Regions from separate parts of the Homo sapiens genome. Here regions 2 and 3 are each linked to region 1. Evidence: promoter capture Hi-C in human tissues and cell types (Jung and others, 2019). All regions are on one chromosome and are shown on one strand. The core of a region is centred on a gene start or on the middle of the fragment in contact, and the rest is flanking DNA. Distances in the headings are between cores, read along the strand shown.

Region 1 (3,794 bases), core at 524-3,023:
TTTTTAAACATATGCAAAAATAACAAGACTAATATAATGAATGCTGATATGGTTTGGATTTGTGTTCCCTCCAAAATCTCATGTTCAATTATAATCCCCAGTGTTGGAGACTGGGCCTGGTGGGAGGTGATTAGATCCTGGGGGTGGAGTTCTCATGAATGCATTAGCATCCTCTCAGTGCTGTTTTCCTGCTAGTGAGTGAGTGAGTTATCCTGAGATCTAGTTGTTTATGTGTGTAGCACCTCCTTCCTATCTTCCTCCAGCTCTGGCCATGTGAAGTGCTGGCTCTCCCTTTGCCTTCCACCATTATTGTAGGCTTCCTTAGGGCTCCCCAGAAGCTGAGCAGATGCCAGCACCATGCTTCCTGTATAGCCTGCAGAACTGTGAGCCAATTAACCCTCTTTTCTTTATAAATTACCTAGTCTCAGGTATTTATAGCAGTGCGAGAATGGACAAATACAAACCCCTATGTGTCTATTACTCAGCATTAATAATTATCAACATTTTGTCAATCTTGTTTGATCAGTTTCTTCCACCCACTTTCCCCCCTAGATTATTTTTAAAAAAACTCAAGATATCATTTTATTTCACTTGAAAATTTCAGTATGCATTTCTGAATGTTAAGCACATTTAAAATAAATACTACCACCATACCATTTTCACATGTAACAGAATTAATTTCTCTCATCTAATAGCCGATGAACAAATTTCCCTGAGATGTTTGTATTCAACTGAGGATTCAAATACAGTCCAGACATTGCATTTAGCTGTTATTTGCCCTAAGTTTCACTTACATCGTAACAGTTTTCCCTCCTTTTTATTAATGTCTTTCATTTGTTGGTGAAACCTTGTGACATTGGACCAGGGACCAGTCCTGTAGAATCTTCCATGTTATAGATTTGACTGTTTCCCTATAATGAACTTAACTTATTCTCTAGTTCTGTTTTTTTGTAAATGGTAGTTAGATCTTGAAGCCATGATTAGATTCAGATTTAATTTTTGGACAGGAACATTTCATAGGTGGTGCTGCTGTGTACTTTTTAATTCATTACTTCATAAGGCTTATAATGTGATTGTCTCAATTTTATTGATGCTAAAATGATTAGTGGGTTATTAACCTGATCACTTGATTATAAAGTTCCTCATCAACCTTTCATCTAATACTTTCAGTCTCCAATTATGATTTTTGCATAGCTCCATTATTTTATTAGAATTTGCAAAAATTGTGATTATTCTAGTTATTTTGTCTTTCTCATTTATTAGTTTCAATTCTTGTGAATAAGAACTTTATTAACTATTAAGTTATATTTAAGTGCAGTTTGTACTGGAAAAGCAGAATAAATGCTTATATTTTTTCCTTTATCAATTTTCAGACTGAGTTGGTGCGCTAGTAATTCCCAGGGTGAGTAATGTTTCTTTTTAAAAAATGCCATTATGAACTCAGATTTTAATGTGTTTTGATATGTTTCAGTCTATTCTAGATTATTTCTTTCTGATCCTTAATATTTTCCATCTTAGACTAGTGGGAGCTCCTAGAAGTTCACTTCTGTGTCCTCATTAATCTCTGATAGCTTTAATATCGCAGGCATAAGCTATTTTAGGCTTACATTATACATTTCCTGCCCCAAACCTGGACCATCTACTTTCCTTTCGTATCTTTCACATAGGAAAATAATCTAATGCTTCCCCCCTTCAACATGGTGGATCTCAGAATGTTCTTGTTTCTATGACACACCAATTCTGTAATTAGAGGTTCTAAAGCTGTATAATAAAGAACTCTAATGGTTACCTTGTTTTCTACTTCTTTTCCAAGATCATGACTGAGAGATTGTTAATAAAAGCATTGAGTGGTGGTAAAAATACGAAGATCATTACTTTGAATGGGAAGAAGATGACAAAGATGCCCTCAGCATTAGGAAAACTGCCTGGCCTGAAGACTCTAGTCCTTCAGAATAACCTAATCCCCAAAGTGTGTCCAGAGTTATGCAACTTGACCCAGGTGAGGAACAGTGTTTTGCTGTTGTGGTTTGGTATTGAAGATGGAAAACAGGAAGAGAGAAAAAAGGGGTAAGAGACAGAACAATAACACTTCGATCTATGGAGACTTAGGTATCTGGAGACTTAATGTGGAGTGTTGCTGGAGAGGCATCAGAAGGCTTTCTCCCTTAGGGAATTCCATGTGGTAGGGAGAGATGTTTCAATTTATTCATGTGCTCTTTGGCCCACATCTGGAGTCAGGGGACTAGGTCTCTGCCACACTCATCTTTTTAGAGGCTGTCATCTGGAAAGGGGTTGGAAACCTGGATCTGGTCGTCTATCTTGGGGGCTTACATCTGGAAGTAGTTTTGAGGATCCAGGAGATGCTGTTCACCCTGGGGACTGTCCTGAAGCTTTTGCATTTAGAATGAAGAGACATTTAGGATGCAGCAAGGGAGTTCCTTTTCAATTTCCTAGGGCAGGCTGAAACTTTGAAATGGAGTGTTGGCAGGGAATAGGAAGGAGGGGACATTTATTTCTCCTGAAATAGTCTTTAAAGGAAGTTTAATATTTTAAATAAAAAATATTCTTTTTTAAAGAGGAATAGTTGACATGAATGAATCCCATATGCTTGTGTTAAACCTTTCTGCCTAACAATGTGAAACTCTAGCTGCCAAAAATCTTGAGGTTGAGAGAAGGCAAGGGATATTAACTTTGTAATTTTCTTTTTGTTCACTGCTGAATTGTCATCAGCACAGGAAGAACCTAGAAGCAGCTAAGGCGTTATAGCTCATTAATTTTGAATTTACAGTTCCAAAAAATAAATCTGTATTTTCTTACTTTCACCCTACCTCATTTCCTTTTACGTTTAAGAAATTGAGTTTGTAATCTGTAGTTGTATCTTTATAAGAAATAGGGTAACTTTTACAAAGTCCCCCTTCATTAGTAATTGCAGAAGGTATACTTGTAGTTACAAGACAACAAGGACTTGGAATTTTTTAATAGGAAAGAGGAGTTTCTTTGCAAAAGAATTTGGGACTTGACTGAGTCATGAACCTATTCTCTCCCTCTATTTGAATTTATTTCCATTAAAGTAGTACTAACCATTGGTTACCGAGAATTAAATATTACAAAAAGCTTATAGCAAGAAGCTATCTTCTATCCCACTTCCCCTCATCCTCAATCCCGATCTCCATATATAACCACTTTTAACTCATCTATTTTATTGATTTGTCTATTTTTGGCATCATTTTTCTTCATCTTCTAGATACAGTTATATTAATGTATCTATTGTGTATTGATCCACATCTGGAATCAGGGGATTAGGTCTACAGGTATCTTTTACATGTAATGTTACTACACCTTTATTTCTTCCTTCATCAACTGCAGTCTCTTTTGACTCCCCACTTCGTAAGATGACAGTGTCAGCCTTTGTAATCCACCTTCAGCTGTCCTTTCCTCTCCCCCCTCACAAACTCTGAAGTTTTTACTTTTATAACACTTACAGCTTTTATATCCTATTCAGTTATAACCATAATTAAATATTTGTTTTGTGTCTTGGGTAACTCTAAACTTCTAAAAATATATATTACTAATAAATAAATATTCACATGGAGTCAATTAATCTATGATTATATTTTCTTTCTTATATGCCATTTTTGTTCCCTTGGAGTTTCTAATAACCTTTCCTTTGTTCTTGTGCCTTAGTTTTATGGTAGCCTCATTTTATTTCAAACTGTATAATTTTTTTCTGTCAAATGTACTTTTCCTTGAGAGACTTCCCTCTAAGACCCTCCATCCTCTGCCCCACTCTATGT
Region 2 (3,587 bases), core at 133-2,632, 470 kb before region 1:
CAGTTTCTCATTGTCCTATAGGAAGCTGTGGTCCCTCTGTACTTTTTTTTTCTTTCTTTTTTTTTTTTTTTTTTTGAGATGGAGTCTCGCTCTGTCGCCCAGGCTGCAGTGCAGTGGCACAATCTCGGCTCACTGCAACTTATGCCTCCCGGGTTCAAGTGATTCTCCTGCCTCAGCCTCCTGAGTAGCTGGGATTACATGCATGCGCCCCACGCCTGGCTAATTTTTGTATTTTTAGTAGAGACGGGATTTTACCATGTTGGCCAGGCTGGTCTCAAACTCCTGACCTCATGATCTGCCTGCCTCAGCCTCCCAAAGTGCTGGGATTACAGGCATGAGCCACAGTGCCCGGCCAACTTTAGCATTCTATGTACAGCTCCTCAGAATGTCTAAGCAGTGTACATTTTCTAAATGAGTTTTATTCCAAAGTTCATTTGTAAATCAGTTCTTTAGGATTTGGAGCAAACACAGCAGGTGTTATTTAATGTCCCAGCAAGTTTACAAAGGCTGCTGTAACCAAAAGTGATACGGAAATATAATACAATTTCAATGAAATCTACCCATAATTATAACATAAGCTTTAAAGGGAAAGTATTCTAAATCCAAGTGCTGAGGGTGGTTGGGGGAGGAGATAACAGAAGCAGAGCATACTGGGGGTATGGTAAGTGTGAGAGGGGAGGAACTTGGAACTTGCACAAGGGGGTGCCATTAAATGAGTACCCATCACTCAGTAAAATCGTAAATAAGTTAGGCATCTTAAAGCTGGGTCTTTAAATTCTGTAACTGTTTTCTGTTACTTCTCTTAAAAGAAACAAGATATATTTACCGAAAACTCCTAAGTTTGCTATGTATCAACAAATGGAAACACCATGTAAAGAGATGAAAAAAATATGGGGGCGGGGGCGGGTGCTTTGTGAATTAGATGCTACCTTCTGTTTAAGACATGCTGAATTCGAGGTGCCTCTTAGATATCCAAAAAAGTTCATGGATGTCAGTGAAGGGGTCTGAAGCTATGGAAAGAGGGCTGAGCTAAAGACAAGTGCTGGGGAGTAGGATGAGGGCAGGCGGAGGGTCTTGACCCAAATACACATATTAGCAACCATCAGAGTAACTGGATTTGCTGTAAAAAAGTTTTCAGAGTAGGACTAGAAAACTTAAGCTAGGATCTTCAAAAACACAGATATAAGGGGTGAAAGGAAGAAGTTAAGCATAAGCTAGGCAAGTGGAAAAAAAAAGTTAAGACAGTGGTATCAAAGAAACTAAGGAAAGAGTGTTTTAATAATGAAGGCACTGTCAGGAGTCTTAGACTACTAACAGGTCAAGCTAGATGAGAAATGGAAAGTACATCTCATTTAGACAAGCTTACTGACAGCCCTAAGAAGAGCAGTTTGAGGGAAGGAAGTGGCAGGGCCACAGATAGCAAGGGTGAAATGGTTACATCTTTAAGTGGGACTTTCCCAGCTGCACTTCTGATCCCAGGGCCTGACGATTTGTACTGTCCCCCAACACACCTTCCCCATCTTCCTTAGCTGAGTGAAGTGTTAAAAAGGGTTTAGAAAATGGAAATAGATAGTACAGACAATTGTTTTAAAAGTTTCCTTATTAAAATGAAATCAAAGAATCAAACACAGGCAGAAGGTCAAGCCTCATACAGAAAGACAGGCATCTCTTAATGCTAACTGGAAAGCAAGCTAAGCAGGGGCAGGAACATAAGAAGTTAACAGATTTCTTATATGCAAATTCAGGGGTTTCTCAGTTGAAGGCTTCTGATTTTTCTGTTAAGCAAGAGAGGTAATCTGCTGACAATAAAGATGGAAACAGGCGAAGGAGTCAAAATTGTGAGGAGAAGTGAAGATAGTTTAAAATAATTAACTATTTCAAGACAACAGCAGGGGAGTGAGAAGACAAAGGAGAGAGATGGGATGTGGGGCAGTGTCGAGAAACTAGGTGAAGATTTGCAACCATGAGTTAAATATCAATGTGTCTGGTTACATGACTTCCCCAAAAGAATAGGGGCAAAGCAGATAAAACTTGGATGTATTCAGGTTTGGGGTTTTGGTTAGTAGATACATAGAAAAATAACAGGCATGGAAGAGTAACTAAATAGACCACAGAATCTAAGCTGGATTTCAGTACAGTTTGAGCATTCCTAACCCAGAAATTCCAAACCTCAAAGGCTCCAACCCGAAGTTTTTGAGCACTAACAAGACACTCAAAGAAAATGCTCATTCGAACACTTTAGATTCCAGACATTTGGATTAGGGATACTCAACAGGTAAGCACAATGTAAATATACTGAAATCTGAGGAAATTCAAAATCTAAAACATTTCTGGCTGCAAGCATTTCAGATAAGGGATAATCAAACTGTACAAGAAATGGTTGTGGCTTCCTATGAACAGTTATTTTGTATTGCTTTATTTTAGGCTGACAGCCATAAAACTCAGAGGCAAATTTGTGGCTCGTTTCTAGAAAATAAGAGGAATCTCATGAATATACTTATTCTGCTAGCTTTAACCTAAGCTCTCTTTTTTTCCTTTTGTATATATTTTGTAAGCTGCATTAAATGCCTCCTGATACAAATTAAGCTGTAACTAATATCAATTAAATCAAACAAGCGTAAACATGTCTTCACTTCTTTTCATAAATCCCTAGGCTAAGAAATATGTGCTTTCCCCACTGTCTTGTATTCTAAGCTTAAATTTTCCAGCTTAGCCAAAGGGTGAGAAATCACTGAATAAAAGAAGATTCTATAGTTTAAAAAGCATCATGAACTTCATTGACTATAGTTGAGTAATTTACTAAGATGCATAAAAATATAAAGTTTCAAATAGTAAAAGTTCTCTCTAAGCTACTAACAATGAGGGATTCTAATTACTCAAATGTAAAGTCAAAGGGAAAAAAATGTTACAAATAGATTACTTATTTTCAGGAAACTACAAAAAAAATGCTTAACTTCATACTAAAAAAATCTGAGAATGCAATACATATTAGATAATTTTACAGTTCTTTGGGACAATCATAAATGTTAATTTATATACTGTGCTATAGATATAATGCATAGAAAGTTTAACTTTATATGATTAGCATGCTGTATTATATAAATAAACCAACTGTAACAAAAACATTTAACTTAGATTCAGATTATCTGAAGAAAATATAGCTCTGGGGAAAAAAAGTAAAGAAAAATAAAAACTGACTCTTTGCATGTCAAAAATATTACAAAATTTTTCTTAAAGCAAGTACTCTTATTGATAAGCTTTATTTAGGCAATATTTCAATGTAAATATTCATGGTTTTACTTTATGTACTAAACTTGTACCTCATAAGCGCAAAGAAAATTAACTCTGGCTTTATTTTATCATAGTATTTTAAATAAGATAGGGCCTCAAAAACTTGAGAATAATGCCACCAAAATTAAATTTGTAATACGGTACCATATACTCAATAACAGTTAAGTTAAAACTAACAAGTTAAAAGACCAGTAAGTCTGGAGGACCATTTCATTAGTATTATTTGCTTAGAGGAGTATAGTGTTGTCCCCTGTATCTGTGGGGTATTGGTTCCTGGAGCCCCCCAGATTTCAAAA
Region 3 (3,325 bases), core at 698-3,197, 500 kb before region 1:
TCACAACACAGATCCTTATTTCAGAAATAACTCTATGTTCTACATTAAAAAAAATCATTTAAATTTTTTTTTTTTATTTTGACCATACCAGCATGTAAACCTAAAATAACATGGGCTTTGCAATACAACTTAATATGAAAATTTTATAAGATTGAATGTAAATTTAATGAAGTCAACAGGTAATTTTACTTATGAAAGGGGCCATAACATATGAAATAAACAGAGTAGTTGTTAATATGGAAGGAATGTTAATACTTAAATATTAGATAGAGTTTAATTCTCAAAGTTTCCATCTCTACCTTGTATGTGTAATTAGCATCATTTAGTGAATTCGTATGTTCTGTGATAGAAGGATATTTAATTAGTACTTTACTTTCCACTAGATAAAATTAGAACATAAAATCAGTATCTGAAATCTGCTGAGAATTATTTTGAGTTTTCTGTGTTTTCACGTCGATAATTTGCTGCAAAGAAATTTCTTTATAAAATTAAAAAATAATTCTACTCTAGAATAATATAAATCTCAAGAAGCATTTTTATGCATTTTCCTAAGAAGAAAACTCAAGATGGACACATTTTCAATATCAATTTATCAAGGTACCTGGGCAAAAATACTAGGATACATTTATTGTCATTATTTCTAGTGACAGGAATAAGTTCATATATCCGAAGCAAGAGATATCACATGACATGCTCGATAGAATTTATCCAAATATGCTTTGACTGAGTCCCAAACATTTCAGTGACTTTTTGTTTTATATTGGCTGGATTGTCAGTATTCCTTCCCAGTTACATATATAATGACGGTAATAATATTCAGCTCATTTATGCAGCAATTTCTCCTGGAAACATAAGTGCATTTTTTGTAATTTTTATTTTTTTGTTTTTGTTTTTTTGAGACTTAGTCTTGCTCTGTCGCCCAGGCTGGAATGCAGTGGCATGATCTTGGCTCACTGCAACCTCTGCCTCATGGGTTCAAGGAAGCCTCAGCCTCCTGAACAGCTGGAATTGTAGTTGCCCGCCATGATACCTGGCTAATGTTTGTATTTTTAGTAGAGACGGGGGTTTCACCATGTTAGCCAGGCTGGTCTTGAACTCCTGATCTCAGGTGATCCACCCACCTTGGCCTTCCAAAGTGCTGGGATTGCAGGCATGAGCCACCATGCCCAACCCATTTTTTTGTAATTTTAATAAAAATTTAGAGGCAACAAGCCATGCTAATTAGAAAAAGGTATTTTTAAGTTTAGGAAAATCAAGCATTTATTTTTAATTGAGTAGTGTCAAGCCAATCACATAATGTTCTTTCTACTAAATTATTTCTATCATCAGAGGACAAAAATATCTCTTATTACAAAGGCAAAGGGACAATATTTATTCATTTATATAATCTATATGAATTATTACTATGTGTCATTTAAACATACTTAGAAATCATCTTGATAAATATAATGATTCTTTGGAACCCATTTAATTAATATGAATTTTTAGTTCCACAAAGAATGCTTGCAGTTTTAAAATACTGTTTTAGGGGAGATATTTTCAGGGTAATTGATGTATTTTTTCCTCATTTCTAAAAATCTGTGTCTATACATCTAAAATAAACTCCTCTCCTTTTTGTGAAATATAAAATTGTCTAACATAAAAGTAGATTTTTAAACAAACACTGGAACTACTGAAAGTACAAGCAAGAAAATTAATTTCTAAATCCTAATGACCATATTTATTACATTGAATTCTATAATAACACTCCTTAATAAATTTACTTTAAAAATTCAGAAAGTTTCTATCAAATTCACAAGAAATTAAATGTTTTTGTTTTCAGTAACCCAGAAAAAGCAACATCCTTAGTATAGCATAATTGTGAGTATTAAATTATATACCCTGGCATTTACATAACACGTTAAAAGTGAAAAATGATTAATATCAACACTTTTAAATATTTATTAAATCCAATAAAGTAAGCAAATAATATTAACGTTTGAACTGTAAAAAGTAATAATAATTTTACTATTTCACAAGTCAACAAATGTATAATATATCTACTAGGTACCAGGCACTGTATGTACTAGGTACTGCCATATGGTAATGACCAAGACAGAGAACAAGACAAATGCTTCTGAGAAGGCAAGGATGTTGAAGCAAGAGAACTTGAGTGTACCTTAGTAGGCATCGCTAAAGCTCCATAAAACATTCTATTTCCATATATCTGCCTCAGCTGAACCCTAATTGGAGTCCCTGGTCTACTCCAGAAAAAGAGAAAGCAATTGTGCACAGGCTACACAGAGAAAGGAAAAGAAATGAAAAGAGATTGGCTTGTTTTGCTCTGTGAAATGGTAAATATTATCGAGTAACCCAATATACTACTACTGATTTCACTATTAAGGTTTTGAATTTTAGAAATTAGAATAATATGCAACAGTACATTCTTCAAAACAGATAAAGTAGGAAGGTTTATAAATATAGCCTAGACATTAATTTAGAACAAAAAACTTCTTTACAATTTGATTTCCAAATAAAATCACAGCAGACCTTGTTTCTTTGAAGTTGACAGTAAATAATGTGATTTTAAAGGTCATCTTGTTTCCAAAATATGTTGTGCACTGAAAAAAAAACTAAAGATAATAATGTATATAGCACAATCCCATTATAGTCAGTGAAGCAAATGCATACAAACATATTTTTATATACTTGTACACAAAAAGAAAAAACTCCAAAGTATTTTACGCAAACTGTTAGCTGTGAATTACCTATACCTGCAAAAAAAGATGACTGTTAAAATACCCATTAAAATGGTAATTTAAAATACTACACTGACCTAAGAAAGAGCATAATACTAAATAAAATGGAATATAAAATGTAATAAACACGTGTTTCTGCATTAGACAGTATGTATAGAATAACAGATGAGAATAAATTAAGTATTTTATGGAGGTGGAATTAAGGCTTGGATTTTCAAGTTAAAAATTTTAAATTTATCCATGCCCCTTCATTCTGGTAGTAGCATGTTATATTTAATTTTTCCCGTTTTAAACCTCTGATTTTTCTTTAAACTTTTCAAAAGATTGTTTTCTAAATGCTATTTATTGATATTACCTTTTAAATATAATATATTCTATGTACACCTAGGTCTCATTCTAGACTTTCTCTTCGGTTCCATTAGTCTATTTCTTCTGATTTCCATGACTTTACATATTAAATTTTGGTACAGGAAGTCCTTCTTTATAATTTTAAAGCTTTCCTGGCCATTTTCACAAAATTTTATTGCAGATGATCCTTGCATCATTTTGTTAATTAAAAAACAAGAACAATGCTTTGGAATATTTAT

The links. The method cuts DNA at HindIII sites, captures the fragments that hold promoters and counts their contacts. A contact is called where the count stands out against the background at its distance.
Region 2: a fragment that was not itself captured here is called in contact with the fragment with the promoter of LRRC69 in region 1 in 2 of the 25 tissues and cell types used here (aorta and spleen).
Region 3: a contact is called between a fragment that was not itself captured here and the fragment with the promoter of LRRC69 in region 1, in 2 of the 25 tissues and cell types used here (dorsolateral prefrontal cortex and lymphoblastoid cells).

The regions. Positions count from the first base shown.
Region 1 is chr8:91,100,846-91,104,639 of GRCh38, forward strand. LRRC69 (leucine rich repeat containing 69) reads left to right here and starts at 1,774. Exons shown (of 8, transcript NM_001129890.2): 1 at 1,774-1,999. The coding sequence starts at 1,817. The HindIII fragment of the contact is 5,612 bases long and covers 1-2,752 here.
Region 2 is chr8:90,626,574-90,630,160 of GRCh38, forward strand. The region is part of intron 2 of TMEM64 (transmembrane protein 64); the gene reads right to left. Among named protein-coding and RNA genes, the nearest start is that of TMEM64, 18 kb to the right of the region's middle. The HindIII fragment of the contact is 3,185 bases long and covers 1-2,975 here.
Region 3 is chr8:90,598,900-90,602,224 of GRCh38, forward strand. The region is part of intron 1 of LINC01030 (long intergenic non-protein coding RNA 1030); the gene reads right to left. Among named protein-coding and RNA genes, the nearest start is that of LINC01030, 5.5 kb to the right of the region's middle. The HindIII fragment of the contact is 6,470 bases long and covers 1-3,325 here.